Linked DNA regions of Homo sapiens: regions 2 and 3 are each linked to region 1. The links are contacts of gene promoters, found by promoter capture Hi-C in blood cells and fetal thymus (Javierre and others, 2016). All regions are on one chromosome and are shown on one strand. Each heading gives the region's core, a stretch centred on a gene start or on the middle of the fragment in contact. The rest is flanking DNA. Distances are from core to core; before and after follow the strand shown. Region 1 holds the start of BLACE (B cell acute lymphoblastic leukemia expressed). Region 2 holds the start of HTR5A (5-hydroxytryptamine receptor 5A). Region 3 holds the start of RBM33 (RNA binding motif protein 33).

Region 1 (3,668 bases), core at 474-2,973:
TAGGCAGAGGACCCTGTGGCCTTCCGCAGTGTTTGTGTCCCTGGGTACTTAAGATTAGGGAGTGGTGATGACTCTTAACGAGCATGCTGCCTTCAAGCATCTGTTTAACAAAGCACATCTTGCACCGCCCTTAATCCATTTAACCCTGAGTGGACACAGCACATGTTTCAGAGAGCATGGGGTTGGGGGTAAGGTCATAGATCAACAGGATCCCAAGGCAGAAGAATTTTTCTTAGTACAGAACAAAATGAAAAGTCTCCCATGTCTACTTCTATCCACACAGACCCGGCAACCATCCGATTTCTCAATTTTTTCCCCACCCTTCCCGCCTTTCTATTCCACAAAGCCGCCATTGTCATCATGGCCCATCCCCAATGAGCCGCTGGGCACACCTCCCAGACGGGGTCGTGGCCGGGCAGAGGGGCTCCTCACTTCCCAGTAGGGGCGGCCGGGCAGAAGCGCCCCTCACCTCCCGGACGGGGCGGCTGGCCGGGCGGGGGGCTGACCCCCGCCACCTCCCTCCCGGACGGGGCGGCTGGCCGGGCAGAGGGGCTCCTCACTTCCCAGTAGGGGCGGCCGGGCAGAGGCGCCCCTCACCTCCCGGACGGGGCGGCTGGCCGGGCGGGGGGCTGACCCCCCCACCTCCCTCCCGGACGGGGCGGCTGGCCGGGCAGAGGGGCTCCTCACTTCCCAGTAGGGGCGGCCGGGCAGAGGCGCCCCTCACCTCCCGGACGGGGCGGCTGGCCGGGCGGGGGGCTGACCCCCCCACCTCCCTCCCGGACGGGGCGGCTGGCCGGGCAGAGGGGCTCCTCACTTCCCAGTAGGGGCGGCCGGGCAGAGGCGCCCCTCACCTCCCGGACGGGGCGGCTGGCCGGGCGGGGGGCTGATCCCCCCACCTCCCTCCCGGACGGGGCGGCTGGCCGGGCGGGGGGCTGACCCCCCACCTCCCTCCCGGACGGGGCGGCTGGCCGGGCAGAGGGGCTCCTCACTTCCCAGTAGGGGCGGCCGGGCAGAGGCGCCCCTCACCTCCCGGACGGGGTGGCTGGCCGGGCGGGGGGCTGATCCCCCCACCTCCCTCCCGGACGGGGCGGCTGGCCGGGCGGGGGGCTGACCCCCCACCTCCCTCCCGGACGAGGCGGCTGGCCGGGCAGAGGGGCTCCTCACTTCCCAGTAGGGGCAGCCGGGCAGAGGCGCCCCTCACCTCCCGGACGGGGCGGCTGGCCAGGCGGGGGGCTGATCCCCCCACCTCCCTCCCGGACGGGGCGGCTGGCCGGGCGGGGGGCTGACCCCCCACCTCCCTCCCGGACGGGGCGGCTGGCCGGGCAGAGGAGTCCTCACTTCCCAGTAGGGGCGGCCGGGTAGAGGCGCCCCTCACCTCCCGGACGGGGCGGCTGGCCAGGCGGGGGGCTGATCCCCCCACCTCCCTCCCGGACGGGGCGGCTGGCCGGGCAGGGGGCTGACCCCCCTCCCCCCTCCCGGACTGGGTGGCTGGCCGGGCGGGGGGCTGACCCCCCCACCTCCCTCCTGGACGGGGCGACTGGCCGGGCAGAGGGGCTCCTCACTTCCCAGTAGGGGCGGCCGGGCAGAGGAGCCCCTCACCTCCCGGACGGGGCGGCTGGCCGGGCGGGGGGCTGACCCCCCCCACCTCCCCCCCGGACGGGGTGGCTGCCGGGCGGAGACGCTCCTCACTTCCCAGACGGGGTGGCTGCTGGACGGAGGGGCTCCTCACTTCTCAGACGGGGTGGTTGCCAGGCAGAGGTGCTCCCCACCTCTCAGACGATGGGCGGCCAGGCAGAGACGCTCCTCACTTTCCAGACGGGGTGGCGGCCGGGCAGAGGCTGCAATCTCGGCTCTTTGGGAGGCCAAGGCAGGCGGCTGGGAGGTGTAGGTTGTAGTGAGCCGAGATCACGCCGCTGCACTCCAGCCTGGGCACCATTGAGCACTGAGTGAACGAGACTCCGTCTGCAATCCCAGCACCTCGGAAGGCCGAGGCTGGCGGATCACTCGCGGTTAGGAGCTGGAGACCAGCCCGGCCAACACAGCGAAACCCCGTCTCCACCAAAAAAAAACGAAAACCAGTCAGGCGTGGCGGCGCGTGCCTGCAATCACAGGCACTCGGCAGGCTGAGGCAGGAGAATCAGGCAGGGAGGTTGCAGTGAGCCGAGATCGCAGCAGTACAGTCCAGCTTCGGCTCGGCATCAGAGGGAGACCGTGGAAGGAGACCGTGGGGAGAGGTAGAGGTAGAGGTAGAGGTAGAGGTTAGAGGTTAGAGGTTAGAGGTTAGAGGTAGAGGTAGAGGTAGAGGTAGAGGTAGAGGTAGAGGTAGAGGTAGACGTAGAGGTATCCTTTAATCTTTCTAGGACAGGTACAGTGGCTCATGCCTGTAATCCCAGCACTTTGGGAGGCCGAGGTGGGAGGATCACTGGAGGCAGGCGGATCACTGGAGCCAAGGAGTTCAAGACCAACCAGGGCAACATAGTGAGACCTTGTCTCTACAAGAAGTTTAAAAAATTAGCCAAGCATGGCGGCGCATGCCTGTAGTCCCAGCTACTTGGGAGGATGAAGCTAGAGGATTGCTTGAGCCCAGAAGGCAGAGGCTGCAGTGAGCAGTGATCACACCACTGCACTCCAGCCTGGGCGACAGAGCAAGCTCCTATCTCAAAAAAAAAAAAAAAAACAGATAATCTTTCTAGGACTTGATTTCCCAGGCTCCATAATGGCAATCTGCGCAGGCAGCTTCTGGCTCTGAGTCTTCCTGTTTCTGTGGTGCCACTGCCAGCACAGGGAGGTCATTCTGTATCATGTCACTTGCTTGGTGTTTTACACCCATGGATGATGAAACAGCAACTGCAGCCTGGAGTGCTGGGAGGCAGAGAGAGTCTCGCTTCCCAGGCCATCTGGCTTACTGTGAAGGCCAGAAGCAGCACAGCCTCTCTTGGTCACCAGGGATCAGGACTCAGGTGGAGAGGGTGGGGCAGGGGCTGGCAGTGGAGACAGGTCCACACTGGGAACCAGCTGTGCCAGGCAGTGTGGCCCTGAAGCCCCTAAGGTGTGTCAAGAGGGGTCTTTCAGGAAATGGTTAGAGAGTGCAGGTGTTGTGTTTCTCTCTGACATGTAAACATATGTCTTTCTAGACAGGCAGGTCTCCCTATACCTGCCTTACGTGGGAAGCACGTCCGCAGGAGAGGTGCCACCCAGTGCCTCCAGCACTGATCAGGCCTTTCTCAGGTGTTGGGCAGGGAGAGGCAGAGCCCAAGAGAAGCCTCAGCAGAACACTAACAGTGGAAAGGAGGCAGTGAGGTGGAAGCAGCTTCTTTGGTACATGCAGAAAGTTCTAGAAAGGCCTTTTGGCTTAGAATCCTAGCTCTATTCACGTGAAGCAGCACTTCGGCATGAGGTGGTGCTTGAGGGCCCCTTGTCTGAGTAAAACGTGGATGTTGTAGCTGGTTTTGGGGGCTGTGGGACTCCCCCATCTGCACACCCCCTACTCAGCCGATGTGGTAAGCATTTAGCCACAGCAAGTGCTTACTTAGTATTTGTTGGTTCCTGATACACAGAAATCTCTGTGATCCAAGCAGTGTTTCTCCCATAGGACTCTACCCTGCCAACCCTCAGCTCGGCTCAGCTCAGCAGCTCGCTAACTGTGAAACTCGGACGGACATCCTGTG
Region 2 (3,668 bases), core at 766-3,265, 300 kb before region 1:
CTATCCTATGGCCTCATTTTAACTTAATCATCCCTTTAAAGATCTTATTTCTAAATATAGTCACACTATGAGGTTCTAGGGGTTAGGACTTCCATATATAAATCTGGCAGGGGGTAAGGGAGGGGGGAAGGAGAGACACAGTTTAACCCATAAGAGGTGACAACCCAGGAAGGTATATTTCCCAATACTGCCATTTCAGAGGTACCATATGGCAGACGGGAGTTTTATACCTTTTCAGATTCTTTTCCTTTTCAGTGTTTTTCAAGATAAAATTGGGGCTATGCTTTAAGATGAAGCTGAAATATTATGATTTTTTATTTGTGTATTTTTAAGAGATAAGCCAGACTTTCTGAACAGGGTTTGTCCCTTCTGGAAATGCTCCATTGGATCTCTCCTTTGTGGGAATATTCTATTCAGTCCCTAAATTTATGACACTCTATTTTTCACAAATTATCCTCAGTCATCCTTGGCTTTGTCCTTATTAACTATTCTGCTGCTCACTTAGCTATCAATACAGACAGCTGTGGCCTGGGGAATCAGTAGGGAATATAATCACAAGCCCATAATGCCTTTCAAGATTCATAGAGATCCATTGAGGCCCGCCTGTGGGCAACACAGTTCATCCATTCCTCCAGATAACAGGCCCTGAGACTAGATGCAGAACTTTTTCCAAAGAAGAGGATTCATAGTTTACATCTCATTCCCATTAGTTCCATGACCTCAAGAAGGTGATTTGCCTTAAAGAAGCACAAGCTTGCTTCCAGATTGGGGCCATGCACAGTTGCTCTGCATGCAGGCAGTCACCATCAGCTGTTTTTAAGTGGTGTTTGAAACAGCCCTGTGAATAATCCGGTATTTAATGATGTTGTCCCGTCCTCTAGGTTCCAGTGGAGGACTTTCTCTTTTCTCAGTGCATTCTCCTGATACTTGTTTTACTCTGCAAGAAACAAAATCTTATATGAAAACATGTTGCTAATCTTTAAATAGTTAAAACTTTCTGACTAAATTTACTTGTAAATGCACAGGATTTCACGACACTCATTTTATATACTTAAAAACAAAGCTTATTAACACCTTACTTTTTTCCTGCCATTTCTGTCCATCATTTTTAAAATTTCAACTTCTTTTATATTGCTATATCATGTGCCTCTTTATGAGGTGCTTTCAATCATAATTTCTGGTTAGAAGCTTCTGATATTTTCTCAGTTTCTGTGGATGTGTTTGTGGTTGTTTTGTGTGCATGTGTGAGGGGAGAGTTAAATTACCTCTTTCTTTTGAGTGAGATGGAGCTCTTATAATAACTTGTATCCCAATTTTTCCTTCTCAGGAAGCAAATTTAGTAGGGACCACTGGAGACTACCCATCTGCCTTATGACTCTGAGGAGATAAAGCATTCTTCAGCCATTCCTGTTGGAGCCAGGTGAAGCATTCTAGCTCCAACACCTCAACCATCTCTAGGAACAGCAGCAACTGCTATCTCGCCTCTCCTCCTTTAAGGAAAACAACCCTTAAGGGAAGCAACTGAGAGCTGGGTAAGAAGAAAGCAATCACGTGCTAAAATCTTCCGGAGAACAAAAGTTAGTGAAACTATCTTAGACCCCTAATTCAGAACTCTTGCAGGAAGAGTAAATACTTATGGAAAGCTGAGAAAGCAGTGTCTAGGGCCTCCAGTCCACCCCTAGAGGGACGTGTGGGGGTGGCTAGGGGAACGTTTTGAGGAAAGTTCATTGGTCAACTTGTTCAACGTGGCAAACTCATTTCAGGCAAGAGAGGCAGCACCGTGGACAGCGCCAACCCTCCTGCTCCCGGGCGGGGCGAGGTGGCAGCACCGCGGACAGCACCACATGTGGTGGCGCACACTGGGAGCCGCCAGGCGCGGGGAGCGCAGCAGCACCGCGGACAGCCCCAAAGCCGCGCGCTCTGAGCCAGGAGGCGGGGAGAGATGGCCTTATCAGCTGATGGCTTACGTAGGGCTAGATCTCCACTTGGATAAGGCAGGTCTCGGTGGGCGCGCCAGCATTCGCTCTCCGGAGCTGCAGCCTCCGAAGGGGTGGCGGGGGCAACAGGGACAGAAGGCAGGTCCCAGAAAGCAGGTTCCCCCAAAACTGGCTTCCCTAGCACGGAGTTAAGGCTGCAGCCGGCTGCCTAGAGAGAAGGGTGGGCAGGGAGACAACGCGGTGAGAGCGACTGCTCTGACGCACCAGCCCCTCTCCTGCACCCACACGCTGCTGGCCGCCCAGCTTCTCCCCGATCTGGGAGATGCTCGGCTCTGGGCGGCCAAACAGCCTTTCCACCAAGGCGAGGAGCCCTGGGCTCCTGACAGCTTAGGCGGGCCCTGGCTGCGACACGCAGCCCCTCGCCTCTGCTTCCTTAGCCTCTGAGGGCTTCAGACCTGCCGCGCTTGCAGCCACACCATCTCCAACGGATGCTCACTAGCAGGAAATTGGGGCCAAATTCACAGGCACTTTCCAGAAACTCCCCCACTGGCCAGAGGTTGCAAACATCCGGATTGGCTCTGGGCACAGTGGCCGCCTTAAGTCCTCCTGAACACCCCTTCTGCAAGTACCCCAGGGCGGTCTCCTGACCCAGAGATGGATTTACCTGTGAACCTAACCTCCTTTTCCCTCTCCACCCCCTCCCCTTTGGAGACCAACCACAGCCTCGGCAAAGACGACCTGCGCCCCAGCTCGCCCCTGCTCTCGGTCTTCGGAGTGCTTATTCTCACCTTGCTGGGCTTTCTGGTGGCGGCGACGTTCGCCTGGAACCTGCTGGTGCTGGCGACCATCCTCCGTGTACGCACCTTCCACCGCGTGCCCCACAACCTGGTGGCATCCATGGCCGTCTCGGATGTCCTGGTGGCCGCGCTGGTCATGCCGCTGAGCCTGGTGCACGAGCTGTCCGGGCGCCGCTGGCAGCTAGGTCGGAGGCTGTGCCAGCTTTGGATCGCGTGCGACGTGCTTTGCTGCACGGCCAGCATCTGGAACGTGACGGCCATAGCCCTGGACCGCTACTGGTCCATCACGCGCCACATGGAATACACGCTCCGCACCCGCAAGTGCGTCTCCAACGTCATGATCGCGCTCACCTGGGCACTCTCCGCTGTCATCTCTCTGGCCCCGCTGCTTTTTGGCTGGGGAGAGACGTACTCTGAGGGCAGCGAGGAGTGCCAGGTAAGCCGCGAGCCTTCCTACGCCGTGTTCTCCACCGTAGGCGCCTTCTACCTGCCGCTCTGTGTGGTGCTCTTCGTGTACTGGAAGATCTACAAGGCTGCCAAGTTCCGCGTGGGCTCCAGGAAGACCAATAGCGTCTCACCCATATCCGAAGCTGTGGAGGTGGGTATCTCAGCAATCCTTAAAAATACTCGACTTGCATCTGTACAGGCTATATCCCCAGGCCACCTGCCCCACCCCCACACTTGTAGAAAATGGAACTTTTTGTGTTTGGGAGTGGGGGGAGTAAACTGGGAGAGTGGAAGAAAGCATCAGAGATGTACTTTGCTCTGACATGTTCCCTCTCACAGGGCTAATCATATCATGTTCCTTCTCTAATGGGTTGTTTGTTAAATATACAGAACACGAGGAGTTCAGACTGCGTCATTCTGCAGGGTCCCCTTTGGCCCCCAAATTCTATGGATCTATAACACCCTTTAGAACATCTGAATAAGCTGG
Region 3 (3,668 bases), core at 589-3,088, 280 kb after region 1:
GCTAAAAAATTTTTCCAGTGGGTGTTTGATCAAAAAATTTTATAGACTCTTGTTCTAGAGAAATTCAGTTTCAAGTGGCTTATGAGATTGTTTCATCTGTTAATTTGGTTTTTTGTGGAATTCTTCTGAAGATCACCACTGAATTATCCTGAAAAATATTTTCTGAGTTAGGCATGCCATCCTCCACAGTTCAAAAAATAATGAAAGGTGATAAAGAGTTCAAGCCATTTAAATATGGATGTATTAACGTGCTTTTTAATAGAGACCATTTTTCAATGAGTTGCTTGCAAAACATTTTTTTTGGGGAGTGAGTTCTCACAGTTGAATAATTTTTTTGTTTTTTTTTGAGACAGAATCTCGCTCTGTCACCCAGGCTGGATTGCCGTGGCGCAATCTCGGCTCACTGCAACCTCCGCCTCCTCGATTCAAGCAATTCTCCTGCCTCAGCCTCCTGAGTAGCTGGGATTACAGGCGCGTGCCACCACGCCCAACTAATTTTTGTATTTTTAGTAGAGACGGGGTTTCACCATGTTGGTCAGGCTGGTCTCAAACTCCTGACCTCGTGATCCACCCACCTCAGCCTCCCAAAGTGGTGGGATTACAGGCGTGAGCCACCGCGCCCGGCCAGCATTTTATTATACGTACCGTTTTATCATCTCTTCACCCATCCACCAATGCATCTCCTGTATGGACGTCTTGATTGTTAACTCACGGCACTGGACCTCCAGTTTCATGCCTCTCCACATTGCAGGGTCCTCTACGTTGTTGTATCAGTCACCTTTCTAAAATACAAATCTTACCATGTAAATTGTTTCTAAAATCTTTCAATAGACCCCATAGACTCAGAAAAACGTCCCAAAGTCCGGAATCCTGGCCCCTGCCTACCTTTCCAGTTTCATTGCTGGGTCAGAACGCCTCACCTAAGCCCCACATTGACCGATATGGAATCAATGTTTACAGCCGGTGTGTACTTAATCAACCCCCTTCCCCGACTGCGACCACTCAGATGCGCCTTCCCGGGCCCCACACCCCAAAACCCCTGAGCCCTTTCGTCCACAGCTGTCTGACCACCCAGCACCCTTTCCTTTATGTCAAGTATGAGGATTTCGTTTCTTAACCTTTCTCACTGCTCAAAATGCAAACTCAGACATGAGTGCCGGGCGCTATCCGTCCTGCTCACGTCTTGTTCTCAGGGCCGCAAGGCGCAGGGGCAGTAAGGGCCGAGAGCCCATCAGGGTCCGGCGCTGCCCGCTGCCCAGCCGGGCGCGGAGAAGGGGACGGGGGTCCGGGGTCGCGGGTCCGGAGGGTCTCGGGTTGTAGGAAGTGAGGGCTCGCGGGCGCCGCACGAGTGCGCGTGCACGTTAGCCCGGCGCGCGCGGCACTCATCTCACCTCGCGGAAGCACCTGCCGGAGCTGTGTGCACCCTTTCCTGCCCTCAACACAAGCCGTCGGCGTTCACTACTGTAGCTCATTCAGACCCCACTCTCCAACCTACTGTCCAGGCACAGAAACGACAGTTAAGGTTCCCCCGGACCGTACGCTGGACCTTGCCTCCCCGGCTCCTAACGGGAGACGGGCTGCCGTAAAGCTTCGCTTTGCCGACTGCTGCAAAGCGCCTTACGACTGAACCCGGAATCGACCTATGGCCAGCAGTCGTCCCCGCCCTGCTTCAAACATTTGGGTTTCAGGAGCCGGGCGGAGGTGACTGCCGCGTGTTTGCGTTGCACGCCCACCGCCCGAAACACGGCGGCGGCCTCAGGGCTGCTGCGGCCTCGGCGGGGGCAGGCCCCGGCGCCCGCCCGCCTCCCGGCCTCCATCATCCCAGGGTGCACCGCGGCGGGCGCGGGCGCGCGGCCATGTTGCGGTAGTTTGTTGTTTTCTTCCTGCGGAGGCGAAGGGCCAGCTGTGGACCGCGAAGCGCCCGGCTTCGCCTCTGCCTCCTGCAGCCCCCTCCCTTCTCTGTCCTCCGTCACCCGTACCCGGGCCCGGACCAGGCACGTCGGCCCACCAGCTGGCTTGGTGGGGGAGGCTGAAGGCCGGGCCCCGCGAGTGCCATGGCGGCCGCCCTGGGAGCGAGCGGAGGAGCAGGCGCCGGAGGTACGTGAGGCAGCCGGACTCTGGGGGCCAGGACCGCGCCGCGGTGGGCGGGGGTGTAGGCCGGGGGGCCTCCCCGCTTAGGAGAGGACGAGGCTCTCCCCGGCTCCGACTCTCTTTGTGTTCGGCCTATTCCGTTTTCTCCCTCGCCTTCCCTCGCTATTGTCATTCTCCCTTTCTCGCTCCTCCTCTCCGCTGTGCAGATCGTACTTACCTGTGAACTTCTGTGTGTCCTCTACTTTGCAAGGCTGCCTAAGTGTCAGGCCCATCTCTGGCGTTGGCGGGCATTAAGTGCCGAAGCCGGCCTGGTGTCCTATGGGTAGGAGAGCGCCCCCCCCACCCCCCGAGACAGTGTCACTTAGGGAGAGCGGGGCAGGTCGCTGTAGGGTGGGTGTTTAAGATTGTGGGGCCATCCTGACAGATTTAGATTGATTTGAAGCCCATTACAAAAACATAACGAAAAGATTCACCTGTGTGAAGGAATGTGCGACAGTAGGCCAGTTTGGAAAGTGAGATTTCTTGAGAAAGTCTCAATAAATCCCTGTTTTAAATTAACTTATTTGTTGTCTAATAACCTGTTAGTGTTTTATGTGCGTCTTCCAAAAGTGAAAACGTGACACAAAAGGTTTAGATACTGAGTCAGTTCCTTTGGATAGTTTTTCTTGTTTGCAAGCATAAACAGTATTGATGAAACACCTATCTCTAAAAAATTGTAGGTAAATTACTTTCAGGTAAAATTACATATCACTGGGGGTTTTAAAAACGTGGAGAGATACTTGAAAGTGACTTTTTAAGTGATTATTTTGAAAACTTTGAAAAGATGGTAAAATATGGATAACAAAAGCATTTGGGATTAGTTCTTACCATTGAAACGTTGAAAAGCCAGTCTAGTGTATACTCGAGAAGTATTTTTTAGTAAATGCTAGCAGATGGTTACGTTGTTATCATCCTGTTTAGGAATTTTGGCCCAACTGTCAAAACGTTTGCCTGACAAAATGGAAAAACAAAAAAGACTAAGTGTAGGAATGTCGCTTCTGGCAATTTGGTTTGCTATATGCCACTTTTCTTTCAGTTTAAATACATGATGTTTGCGTGTTACATCTGAGACTAATTAAAATTTTAAAATGTATAGTTCACCTATCTTTCTGGGGGTCAGAATTACTTGTTTTATAGCATTCCCAGTGTAACCTGGGAACTCTTGGGTGAACACTCTTTTCATTAGAAAGACTAAGGTGTTATTTGTATTTTTTCTCTTTTCTTTCAGTAGTGTACAGTGGAGTTTTCTAGAGGCTGAATAACATGTGAAGACGTTATGCTGATGGCTAATGGAATATATGCTTGTGTATTCTTTTACGTTTCTCATTTTAAATTTCTAAAATAGTAATATCACTGAATGTAATCCAGATAAACAGGCATTTTTGGGTCTTCAATAATTTTGAGGTCAGAAGTTTTGAGAATTGCTATTTTAGAAGAATAAGTAGGCTTTATTCATGATGCTTTGGAGTTTTTCCTTCCATTTTGTCACAAGTGCCAAAGTTTCCTTTGCTCTTCATACCAAACTCCTTGCCAAGATT

Evidence for each region. Contacts are between HindIII fragments. The CHiCAGO score rates a contact against its expected background, and 5 or more counts as called.
Region 2: the fragment with the promoter of HTR5A here is called in contact with the fragment with the promoter of BLACE in region 1 in 2 of 17 cell types (fetal thymus and megakaryocytes); the score reaches 7.6 in fetal thymus.
Region 3: the fragment with the promoter of RBM33 here is called in contact with the fragment with the promoter of BLACE in region 1 in 7 of 17 cell types (monocytes, total B cells, neutrophils and 4 more); the score reaches 8.5 in monocytes.

Annotation. Positions count from the first base shown.
Region 1 is chr7:155,366,210-155,369,877 of GRCh38, forward strand. BLACE (B cell acute lymphoblastic leukemia expressed) reads right to left here and starts at 1,724. Exons shown (of 6, transcript NR_103545.1): 1 at 1,600-1,724. It overlaps LOC105375593 (a long non-coding RNA gene), which reads left to right. Exons shown (of 3, transcript XR_928236.4): 3 at 3,593-3,668. The HindIII fragment of the contact is 7,901 bases long and covers 1-3,668 here.
Region 2 is chr7:155,068,309-155,071,976 of GRCh38, forward strand. HTR5A (5-hydroxytryptamine receptor 5A) reads left to right here and starts at 2,016. Exons shown (of 2, transcript NM_024012.4): 1 at 2,016-3,332. The coding sequence starts at 2,592. HTR5A-AS1 (HTR5A antisense RNA 1) reads right to left here and starts at 3,249. Exons shown (of 2, transcript NR_038945.1): 1 at 2,726-3,249; 2 at 1-937. RefSeq lists enhancers at 1,708-1,777, 2,565-3,391 and a silencer at 1,888-1,977. The HindIII fragment of the contact is 4,035 bases long and covers 1,187-3,668 here.
Region 3 is chr7:155,642,823-155,646,490 of GRCh38, forward strand. RBM33 (RNA binding motif protein 33) reads left to right here and starts at 1,839. Exons shown (of 18, transcript NM_053043.3): 1 at 1,839-2,097. The coding sequence starts at 2,055. It overlaps RBM33-DT (RBM33 divergent transcript), which reads right to left and starts at 1,584. Exons shown (of 3, transcript NR_126344.1): 1 at 1,392-1,584; 2 at 646-782; 3 at 1-148. RefSeq lists an enhancer at 778-1,732 and a silencer at 1,657-2,166. The HindIII fragment of the contact is 4,649 bases long and covers 1,587-3,668 here.